4 separate regions of the Homo sapiens genome follow, and regions 1, 2 and 3 are each linked to region 4. Evidence: promoter capture Hi-C in human tissues and cell types (Jung and others, 2019). All regions are on one chromosome and are shown on one strand. Each heading gives the region's core, a stretch centred on a gene start or on the middle of the fragment in contact. The rest is flanking DNA. Distances are from core to core; before and after follow the strand shown. Region 1 overlaps KIF6 (kinesin family member 6). Region 2 overlaps KIF6 (kinesin family member 6). Region 3 overlaps KIF6 (kinesin family member 6). Region 4 holds the start of DAAM2 (dishevelled associated activator of morphogenesis 2).

Region 1 (2,946 bases), core at 7-2,506, 290 kb before region 4:
GGAGTGGTGGAGATGATGTGTAGAGGTGTGTTTGAAGTGGAGCATGACATCTGGAGTGGCCATCATCAGGGAAAGACAGAGTAGGATGCACACAGATGGGGCTAGAGAAAGGGCTTGGCGCTGTGCTGTACTTGAAGTATAAACGTTAATGTGTCAGGGATGGGAAGGCATAGAAGGTTAACTGAATGGGTGGGGGATATCCAGGCAGTGCCAATGGCATGAAAAGTGATTGGAGAAGTTAAGAATGGACACAAAGAAACCAGTTGCAAGAATACAAGAGAGAAATTATTAAACGGAAAGACAGGTACACTTCACATCGGGAAAAGAAAGTCCCCAGAGTCCAGAGGGAGAACTGGCAAGAATAAATAAGCAATTCAGCTGTGGGAGACTAGGGGAAGGAATCTGAAATTAGGTGAAGCTTTCCCACTTAGACAACTGCAGATATCACTCATTGAGGTAGAAAATATAGGAGGAAGAGCTAGGGAAATATAATGCGTGAAATTGGAGGCACATTTTATTAAAGGTGCTAATTGAGGCACCCTGGGGGTTTTGCTACTTACTAATGTTACAATCTGAGGCAAGTTGCTTAACCTTTCTCCTCCTGGGTTCTCTCATCTACAAAATGAGGACAACAATGTTACTACTTCATAGGGTTCTATGAAGGTTAAACGGTAATGTAAGTAAAGATTTAGCACTAAGCCTGGCACAAAGTACTTGACACATGCCATCGTTGTTATCATAGGGTCATCTCTATAGAAATGGGAGTTTGGAGTTCAAGAGAGAAGCAGAGAGCCAGAAGTAGAGAGGTGGAAGCTCTCTGAGAAGCAGAGAGGTGGAAGCTCTCTTAGAAGCAGAGAGGTGGAAGCCCTCAGAGAAGGTAAGCAGGTTCTGAGAAGGACAGAAATCCTTTGGGGAGAGAGGGGAGTGGCATATAAGAAATGTAGCAAGATGGCCAATTAGAAGCAGCTGCAGTTTGCGGAACTCATGGAGAGGAATGGAAGGGGCGAGTGGATACAGCACCTTCAACTGAAATATCTAGGTTGTTGCATTGGGACTGATCAGGGAAACAACTAGACCCATGAAGAATGAAGAAAAGGGTGACGGCTTACTCGGGAGCAACACAGAGCCAAGGGAATTCCCACCCCTAGCCAAAGGAAGCAACTTCACCAGTGATACCTCCAGGTATGGGAAGAACTGAGGCAACCAGGGTCTAGAGCAGACTCCCAGCAAACCACAGCAGACCTATGAAGAATAGTCAGGCTGTTAAAAGAAAAACAAACAAACAAACAGAAAATAACAACAAATCACAAAAACCCTATCCAAAGGTCAGCAACCTCAAAGACTGAAGGTAGATAAGCCCACAAAGATAAGAAAGAATCAACACAAAAATGCTAAAAACTCAAAAAGCCACAGTGCCCCTTTTCCTCCAATGACCACAACATCTCTCCAGCAAGGGCTCAGAACTGGGCTGAGGCTGAGATGGCTGAAATGACAGAAGTAGGCTTCAGAATGTGGATAATAATGAACTTTACTGAGTTAAAGAAGCATGTTGTAGTCCAATGCAAAGACACTAAGAATCATGACAAAATAATACAGGAGCTGACAGCCAAAATAGCCAATTTAGAGAGAGGAGCATAACCGACCTGTAAGAGCTGAAAAACATATTACAAGAACTTCATAATGCAATCACAAGTATTAATAGCAGAGTAGATCAAGTGTAGGAAAGAATCTCAGAGCTGGAAGACTAGCTTCTGGATTAAGACAGGCAGACAAGAATGGAGAAAAAAAGAATTAAAAGGAATGAATAAAATCTCCAAGAAATATGGGATTATGTGAAGTGACTGAATATCTGTGCCTGATTGATATACCTAAAAGAGACAGGGAGAATGGAACCAAGTTGGAAAAGACACTTCAGGAAATCATCCAGGAGAACTTCCCCAACCTAGCAAGATGGGCCAACATTCAAATTCAGGAAATGAAGACAACCCCAGTAAGATACTCCATGAGAAGATCAACCCCAAGACACAAACTTCAGATTCTCCAAGGTTGAAATGAAAAAAGAAAAAAAATGTTAAGGGCAGCCAGATAGAAAGGCCAGGTCACCTACAAAGGGAAGCCCATCAGACTAACAGTGGATCTCTCAGTGGTAACCCTACAAGCCGGAAGAGATTGTGGGCCAATACTCAACATTCTTAGAGAAAAGAATTTCCAAACCAGAATTTCATATTGACCAAACTAAGCTTCATAAGTGAAGGAGAAATAAGATCCTTTTTAGACAAGCAAATGCTGAGGGAATTTGGTACCACAAGACCTGCATTGCAAGAGCTCCTGAAGGAAGCACTAAATATGGAAAGGAAAAACCATTACCAGCCACTAAAAAAAACACACACACACTGAAGTACACAGACCAGTGACACTATGAAGCAATCACATAAACAAGTCTGCGAAATAAACAGCTAGCATCATGATGACAGGATCAAATCCACACATAACAATACTAACCTTAAGTGCAAATGGGCTAAATGCCCCAATTAAAAGACATGGAATGGCAAGCAGGATAAAAAACCTAGACCCATTGTTATGCTGTCTTCAAGAGACCTGCCTCACATGCAAAGACACATGCAGGCTCAAAATAAAGGGATGGAGGAAAATTTACCAAGCAAATGGAAAACAGAAAAAAAGCAGGGTTGCAATCATTGTTTCTTACAAGACAGACTTTAAACCAACAAAGATCAAAAGAGACAAAGAAGGGCATTACGTAATGGTTAAAGGTTCAATTCAACAAGAAGATCCAACTATACTAAATATATATGCACTCAATACAGGAGCACCTAAATTCATAAAGCAAGTTCTTAGAGACCTACCAAGAGACTTGGGCTTCACACAATAGTAGGGGGAGACTGTAACACCCCGCTGACAATATTAGATCATTGAGACAGAAAATTA
Region 2 (2,960 bases), core at 410-2,909, 370 kb before region 4:
TACAGAAATATCTATGTACTTTTATATAAATGTATTAAATAAAAAGATCTAATGGTGAGTCTAATAACCACTGTAATTTTGTACTGATAGCACAAAAGATATTTTACAACGTCTGCCCCTCTGTGATATGACATGCAGGCCTCTGTGACTTCCACTGGGTTCATCATTGAGGTGGTGCTAAGTTTCAGTTAGAGGTTAGTAGAAATACAGGGGCATTTCTCTCCTATCAAGATCCTGGACCTTAGGTCAAGAACTCCTGAGACACAAGGATTCTGAGTGTGGCTGTTGGCTGTGTCTCTGGGTCTGGCTGCCTCAGCCCCTTCTGTCTCAGGCCACAGAGGGGACTGTGGGGCTCCTGTTTACCGACCGAGACAAACTGAGGCTATCGTGATTTTTATATTCTGTTAGAAAAATTAAAGGGGGCACTCACAGTGGCTTCTGTCCTGTCCTCACTTGTAGGCGGAGAAAAGGGGGTAGTAAGAGAGACCCAGCGGGCCAGCTGTGAGCCAGTAACTGCTGCCTTCTCCAGCACAGAGGTGAGGCACAGGGATCGCCTCTGTGAAGCTGCCCTGGGCCTGGGAGATGGGTCTCTGTGGTATCTTTTAGTTTGGGATGAAAAAAACATTGTCCTCTTACTTTTAAAAGGATTTGAGGCTGGGTGTGGTGGCTCACCACCTGTAGTCCCAGCACTTTGGGAGGCCGAGGTGGGTGGATCACTTGAGGTCAGGAGTTCGAGACCAGCCTAGCCAACGTGGTGAAACCCCATCTCTACTAAAATCACAAAAATTAGCTGGGTGTGATGGCATGCACCCATAGTCCCAGTCACATGGGAAGCTGAGGCAGGAGAATCACTTGAACCTGGGAGGTGGAGGTTGCAGTGAGCTGAGATCACGCCACTGCACTCCAGCCTGGGCAACAGAGTGAGACTCTGTCTCAAAAAAAAAAAAAAAAAAAAAAGAGAATTCGAGGCACATTTTACTGAGTTGCCTCTTGCCTTAACTTCACCTTTGCAGGGGTACTCACCTAAGTGGGGAGCCCTCCGTGGCAGCCTCCACCTTGGGAAGGCACGATGGCTTGTTTTTGCTTCTTATCCTTCCACCAGCTTATTGACTGATGCTAAAATATCATACCTGTGCCAAATATGCTAAGCAGAAGCTTTGGGAGGTGTAAGAGTGTTTCCCCATACTTGAAATACGAAATGACGTCTCACTGTAACCGTGAAGTTATGATTAGCTGAGCTACTGCTGAAAAACACCAGGGAAAAGCACAACTCTCTGATTGGGATGCTGGAGCTCAGGTCTGCCTGAGGATGAAAAGTTCAAGTTCTAGACAAAAGAAAGTGCTTTTCCTGCTGGGTGGTGGGAGGGATCACACACTTCCTAGGGAAGGCTCTCAAAGCAGCTTCCTTGGCAGGGGCTCTCCTGAAACTGGCCATTTGGGGCTTCATGGCCATTTGGAGGCACATCATGACCTGATTTTCACCAGGAAAATGGTTTCTGAAAGAGGCTCACAGAATATCATCTGCTTACCAATTTTACTTCTTGCTTCATTTATACTTTCTCCCAGGGCCTTGGCTTCAGAAAATCTGGAGGGGAAAAAAATGAAAATTGTAGTTTTTCTGTTCATCCTACAAGATGTTTTAAAAATAATAGATTTCTTAGAGGTCACTAAAATATGATGAAACTTTATTGAAAGACACAAAAGAAAAATCTAAATAAGTAAAATATATTAGGCTTAAAAATAGAGAGAAAATTGGTATTAATTATAGGTATTGTTAATTTTTACTCTATCCAGCACAGAATTTGTATTCTCATAGTCTCTCATTTATGACTTTTAATTTATATTATTTCATGATGCAAAGATATCAGAATAAAGCCTGGCTGTAAGGTTTCTGTGCTGTGTTCTATTGATTATGATACCAAGATCTTATAACCAAAGAATATATACTTACATAACTTTTTTCTGATTATAAAATAATATATCAGAGGTTGTAAAACTATGGCTGGTTATGAGACAAATCTGGCCTGCTGCCTGTTTCTGTAAATAAAGTTGCCCTGGAACACCGCCACTCCTATTCACTGACGCATTTTCTGTGGCTGCTTTCACGCTACAAGACAGAGTCGACTAGATGTGACAGAGACTGCGTGGCCTACAGGGCTGAAAATATTTTCTACCTCACCCTTTATAGAAGAAGTTTGCTGATTCCTGTTATATACCGTTATTAAGCCAGATTTTGAAAATACAAAAACAAGAAAAAAATTCTCAAGTACTCCTCTACCCAGAAATAAGCACATTGGATACACGTATCCACCCCGTCTTTTATAGAGCCAGTTTTTATAGGGTTGGGATCATAATACAGATATGATTTTGTGCCCCGATGTTTTTTTTTCACTTAGCATTGTAACATAAGTCCTTCCCTGTATTATGAGATGCATACCTTTGATGGCTTCATGCTAGTCTACTAGATTGCTGTGCTAATGTTTAGTGAGTGATTCCTTTATGTTTCTGGCCTATGTTTGAGACACCCACGATGAGCCAACTTTGCGCTAGAGAAGCAGACAGGACATGGCCTATGTGAGAACATGTAGTTCAGTCCCTATACATAGTGGGCCCTCATGAAATGTTAGTTGCTTTCCCTCCTCTCCTTTCTGCCATGAAGTTAAAGAGACAATTGAAAGCCTATGAAAGCAAGCACCTAATAGATAGCTGAATTAAATGGCTGTACCTTGGCGGGGCTAGTCATGCCATTAGCGTTTGACTAGGGAGTGGCCTGTCCACGAGTGAGCGGAGAGCTGTCAGGAAAGCTTCATGTACAAGGTGGGAGTGACCTGGGTTTTGTGGATCCACAGGAGTTTTTAGAAAATGTTTTATTATGAAAATTTCCAAATATACACAGGATAGTAGAATGAACCCTAACATACCCAGTATCACATTTTATTAATTGTCCAGTTTTATTTCAA
Region 3 (2,947 bases), core at 147-2,646, 390 kb before region 4:
CAGAGAGGTGGCCAAGGAATTAATAAAGGAATCTAAAGATTTTTCTCTATCCCCAAAGGCTGCCACTTGAGATAGTTCTTGCTTTGGGGGAGTCATGTGAGTGTGTGGCAAGGAGAGGGGAAGAGGGTTGTGGGGGAGAAGCTTCTGAATCCATTCAGCTTCATGCGACAGGATTTTGACTCTGGCCTGTCACTGGAAACAGATCTGACCCCTTCTCCACGGTGATATTTGTAATCTTTTCTCTTTGCAGTCAAGGGTATCAATGAAGAGTGAATGTGTATGACATGCAGTTTTTGGTGAGAAGTTTACTGTGGGCCTTAGGATATTTTCTGCTGGAGACAATACACTTGATGTAATGATTTTCTGTACCACAGAAATCACAGGAATCTGTTTTCTAAGGATTGATTACATGTCAGCTGACTAACGTCAACAGTCCTTTGTGGGTTGGTATTTTAACAATGTGGCAGTGTTTAGAGGAATTGGTGGTTTTTACCTGGATCTTAGGAAATCACCAATGATGATAATACAATGGGTGAACAATGGGTAAGCTAAGATGTTGCACGTACATGAAGAAGAGATAAGTATCTGAATGGCAAATAGGTGCCCCTAATTCCTAATAGTGTAACATTATCAATGAGGACAGTGACTTCTAGGAAGTTGTTACAGTGGCCGGAGGCCAGTAGCCTTTCTGCAGTTGCTCAAGTCACTTTGGTTGAGAAAGCCTGCATAATCCAGCTCCCATTTTCCTCTGTCTTCTTTTCACCATCTGAGTTATCTCAGAGGTAACACCCCATACCCCCTATCTTAGTGTGGTTTCTCCTGGAAGCAGACCCTAGTACAAGTAGTTTATTTGGGAAATGATCCCTGGAAGCACTGGTAACAGACAAGGGAAGTGAGACATGGAGGGAAGGCAGCCAATCTAGGGGGCAATGGCAAGCCATTTTCCACTATGGGCAATTGGAGCTCAATCCCACTTGGAGACTCTAGGGGCCTGTAGAGGATACATGCCTCAGAGCTCTCACTCCTGCAGAGGGAGGGAGCTGGGGTACGTATACACCAACTGCCAACAGTCATTGATTGAGTCCTCCCGGGGCAGGGGATTTTAATTCCCCAGCACCAGCCTGCCCCACATATATCTCTTGAGTAGGTGAAAAATGCTCTCGGGGGAGTGGGTAGTGCTAGCAGGTGAAGTCATGCTAGTGTGCACATGCCTGGCATGTGGAAGGGATGCAGGTGGGGCTCTGACAACATCTACCCTGTTCCTTATTTCTTGTTTTTCATTATCCTTGTCTGAAAAATATTACTACTGCCTGTAGTTAATATAGTCTCTTACAAACAAACCTAATTCTTTGGCAACAAAACTAGCAGAGAAAGAGGCAGAGGAAATGAAACATTCTAGCTAGTCTATTGCCTGATTTCTTATAGGCCTGGCTGGTATTTTGGGAGTCAGGTTTGTTTTCTGGCCTGGCAAATAGGAGTAACTGTAGCAGCCCTTGGTTTTCTATGGACCCTATTTTAATAGAATGCAGACTGCTTAGACTTTGGCTCACATTCTGCATGCTGAGGTGAGCTACTCTTTCCTCACTTGCTGCCTCAGTTTCCCTTTTTGCAGTGACACCTCAGATAGGAAGCTCTGACATCAGAAGCTCTTCAATTCAGCTTCTACTTGGGGCAATGGAAAAGGTACGATGTGTTACTGTGATGGAAAGCACTGTCAACCAACCCTGGCAGAGGTGCCAGGGGCATGAGGGACTCAAGCCGTTTCGAGGACTCATCCTAGAACAATGCAAACAATTGTCCTCAATCCTGGGTCTATGGGCCTGTTTACTCACTCCGTGCTGTGCCCGGCAGAAACTTGCAGTGATTTAGGAAGTCAGGGAGAGACATTTCTGGCTGTGCGGAACCTGATGAAATACTGTTTTGTGGAGACAGACTAAAAAATAACCAAACGGTCTTTAAGTGGAACAGAGATCAGAAAATCTCCTGAGGCACATTTAAGAAACCCATCAATTTTGCTGGCTTGGCCATAGAAGGGAAAATTGCACTGCAAATGATTATCTCTGATGAAATGTTCCCAAGTCTTTTACAGGGCACTTATTTGTAGTGACCTATTACTCCACCAACGAGGCCTGACTGAGAAGCCCCCACTGGGTGGTTTATAAGGGGAGTCTGCAGAGTAATTGCAGGCTCAATCCTGAGGGCCTCCTGTGTCCTATCTTCTCAACCACCTTACAGGTATCCTGAGGCTGGGGACTCTCCTATGGATTTGTGTGTTTTCCACAGGGCCTCCAACTTTACAGATGTACATAAATTACTGAATGAATAAACCTGAGACCAAGGCTTTCTGCCCAAAGTCCTCATCGTAGAAGCCCTCAATTTCCTACTTGCCCTGACCAAACTGAGGAAAAGCTGTGGCAAAAGCTCCTACTGCGTTCAGCCTGAAATAATTCACCACAACCTGTATCATCAACCCATACCCAATTACCTAAAGTGCTCTTTCTAGAGAAATTAAAAAAAAAATTCTGTTCTCCAACATAAGATTCATTTTAAAATGACAGCTGAGGTCATTTCTTTTATAAAAGCTGAGGTGGGTTGTCTGATATTCCCTCCTGTCTTCTTTCCTTGGTGGATTCATACTGTTTTATTTTTTATTTATTATTAAATATGGTAAAATTGACTTGGGAGCATGTGTGTGCATCATGGGTTTGGACACACACATAGATTTGTGTAGCCACCTTCAAAAGCAGGATCCCCAAGAGTTCTGTCACCCCTGGACTCCCTCACAAGGCCATGTTGGACTCACACCCTTCTCCCACCCCTGCCCTGCATTGTGGAAGTTCTCACTTTTTCAGAATGTCATATAGCTGGAATCAGATAGTAGGAGGCTTTATGAGACTGGCTTCTTTCATCCAGCACAATGCCTTTGAGAGTCACTCATGTTGTCTTA
Region 4 (2,735 bases), core at 16-2,515:
TATAGTTGTGTTTTAATGATGATTTGCAATTATCCGTGCCCCCTCCCATTCATGGTGAGATGAATACCTAAACACTTATGTTGTCTAACCATATAAGTATTTTGCATCTCACGTGTATCATTTTAAGTTCATTTCATTCTCCAATCCTTGGGAACCATGAAGGATAACACATTACATTCTCTTTTTTTTTTTTTTTTCCTCTGGAAGATCATGCATTACATTCTCTTTTTTTCTCTGGAAGGGTGGCCCTTAAACCAAGCCATTTCCCTAAGCCCCTTTGGTGAGGTGGAGAAACAGACAACCACTAACACAGAACAACCACTGAACACCCAGAAAACTGTATACAGGTCATCACCCAGTGGGGGCACCATTTGCTTGCAGAGGGAGCTGGGGAAAATAGGAAACAGAGAAGATCAAATACTCCCCGTGAGGGTGTTGCCAATCCCAGAGAGGACAATTGCTCTTGACCAAAGCAATCTCTAGTTCAGTCAAGGAGACAGACCACAATCACATTTAAAAAAAAAAGAAAAAAAAAAACTAAAAGGAAATTTTAAAAGTATGAATAAGAGCTATTGTAAACTGCTCAAACTATGCATACAAGCAATGAAGTAAGATGAATTGACTGGCACTGAATTGGAAAAGCTATACAGAGGCAGGGAGTGTGGAACATAATTTAATAAAAATAAACTTAAAAAAATATATATACACTCCCAAAAAAGAAATGGAAAAGTTGTTAGGGCGTGGACCAGGACTCCTAATTAGCTGTTCTGTTGTGCCTGATTTCGCTCCTGTCTTGCCCAGCACCCCTTGGGACACACTGTCCAGTGCAGGGACACTTTGGGGAGGGACAGGGGATTCCTTGGCACCGGGACCTTCACCTCCGAGCCGGCCTCAGACCAGGCCATTTGCCCGTAGCCCAGAGGAGGAGCCGGGGAGAAACCCGCTGCCCAGGTGGCCACTTTTGCCTCTTTGACCCTTCCATGTTTCCAAAACAGAAGGGGCCCTGAGAACGCTCCCTGCCAAAGTGGGGAACAGCTACCCTCATTGTACGCCTCGCCCTGCCGGTGGCGCTCTCCCCCCGCCTGCGTTCGGTCTGAAAGTGTGAAAATTACAAATCCCAAGAAACTGCAATCAGAAGTCTACCTAGGGAAAATTCAGAGTAACCTTGCCATAAATATCCCGCTCCAAGACGCCTGACGTCAGAGCGGGGCGGGCGGACGGGCGCGAGGCCGGGCCTGGAGGGGCGGCAGCCGCGGCTTCCCGGGGATAGCGCGGAGCACGCAGCAGCGAGCGGAGCGCGGGCGGCGGCGCCGTACCTCGGGCTGCGGGAGCGCGGGCGCCCTGGGGTCCTCGGAGTAAGTGCGGCCGGCCCTGGCGCTCCCCGTCTTGGGGCCCGGGCCGCGGGGAGCCCTCTCCGCTGGGCTCCCACACTTCTCTCCCTCTGCTTTCTTTAGCATGCCCCGCGGGGCTTGGGGAGGCAGCAGCTCCGCAGGCTGGCGGTTTTGTTTCTCCAAAGTGTTTGCAGGAGCCGCCGACCCCGGAGTGGGCTCCCAGGGCCTGTGTGTGTGTGAGTTGTGTGTGTGTATGAGTGTGATTGCGTGTGTCTGTACTGGCACATCTGGACATAGGAAATGTCTTTGGAAAACTTTTTAAAAATGTTTTTTGCGGCTTTGAAACCTGACCCCTGGTTGTCACAAGTGGACAAACACAGAAGATACCCCGCAAAACTGACAACTTTTTGGTGGTGGCTTTTCCGGGTTCGGCTTGAACCTTCACTTGGCTGGGCTGAAGTCTTCACAAGCCCCCAGCTCCCACTTGCAGGCCTGGCCTCTGGCCAGTGGGCAGGGCAGCCGTAAGGTTCTTGTTCTCAGTGGCAGTGGGACCCTGGGCGGGGGAAGGAGCATCTCAGGAAAGGGGTCCCCGGACTCTGGGGCTCTCAGCACCTGCGGTCGCAAACCAACCTCATGCCCTGACTTTACCAGGCGTCGGGACTCTGACTTAACCGGGGAATGAGGGACTTGGTCTGGCGGCAGGTAATTTTGTGAAGAGGATGAGAAGGAAGAGGGGGAGGTGGTGGTGATGGCCAGGACGCTGTGGCCCTGTGTCCAGCCGTAGCTTGGGAGTGGGATGGTTGGTTCTGCCACATGGCCACGGTGAGGTACGTGCCAGGTTCTCCAGGAGTGCCGCGTGTGGTGCCCCAAACAAGATGCAAGCTCCTAACATAAAGAGACGTGTCTGAGCTGTGGGGTGGAGGAAGGGGGGCGGTGGGGGAGAGGGAGATTTTTATCAAAATTGAACACAGATTGCTGAGATCTGGGCTTGATTTAACTCTTCTCTCTCTGCCTCGGCCACTTCTCCACAGTTTTGGAGTGGATTTGGAACGTTTCTCGGAGGGTTAGAGGAAAATCACACCTCTCCGGAAAAGAGTCCCCATAGGTTTTCCCTTGATGCCCACGTGGGAATGAAAGCAGCTTCCCATCTTTAAAAAGTTCAAAGTCTTGTGTTTTCCCCCTTCTGAGTTTGGTGTTAGTTTCCTGAGTTTCTTTGCAAAGCCAGCTGAAGCGGGGGATGGATTTTCCCTAGGGCCTAGGGCGGAAAGTGTGCTCCACGGAGAGTAGGGGAAAAAAGCAGCAGTGAGGCTGTATCGATCCATCATCCCTGAGTAGCACAGTGCCAGGCACTGCCTGTCAATAGCTGGGTTCCACAAACGAGTGACCACAGACAGACTGAATTTT

What was found. Contacts are between HindIII fragments. The study calls those that stand out against the background at their distance.
Region 1: a contact is called between a fragment that was not itself captured here and the fragment with the promoter of DAAM2 in region 4, in 2 of the 25 tissues and cell types used here (hippocampus and mesendoderm cells).
Region 2: a fragment that was not itself captured here is called in contact with the fragment with the promoter of DAAM2 in region 4 in 2 of the 25 tissues and cell types used here (dorsolateral prefrontal cortex and mesenchymal stem cells).
Region 3: a fragment that was not itself captured here is called in contact with the fragment with the promoter of DAAM2 in region 4 in 2 of the 25 tissues and cell types used here (bladder and dorsolateral prefrontal cortex).

Annotation. Positions count from the first base shown.
Region 1 is chr6:39,500,000-39,502,945 of GRCh38, forward strand. All of the region lies in intron 13 of KIF6 (kinesin family member 6), which reads right to left. Among named protein-coding and RNA genes, the nearest start is that of KCNK16, 180 kb to the left of the region's middle. The HindIII fragment of the contact is 4,347 bases long and covers 1-2,946 here.
Region 2 is chr6:39,418,419-39,421,378 of GRCh38, forward strand. KIF6 (kinesin family member 6) reads right to left here. Exons shown (of 23, transcript NM_145027.6): 15 at 1,530-1,585. Among named protein-coding and RNA genes, the nearest start is that of KCNK16, 97 kb to the left of the region's middle. The HindIII fragment of the contact is 3,152 bases long and covers 84-2,960 here.
Region 3 is chr6:39,400,532-39,403,478 of GRCh38, forward strand. The region is part of intron 15 of KIF6 (kinesin family member 6); the gene reads right to left. Among named protein-coding and RNA genes, the nearest start is that of KCNK16, 79 kb to the left of the region's middle. The HindIII fragment of the contact is 3,368 bases long and covers 1-2,947 here.
Region 4 is chr6:39,791,111-39,793,845 of GRCh38, forward strand. DAAM2 (dishevelled associated activator of morphogenesis 2) reads left to right here and starts at 1,266. Exons shown (of 25, transcript NM_001201427.2): 1 at 1,266-1,355. The HindIII fragment of the contact is 10,904 bases long and covers 1-2,735 here.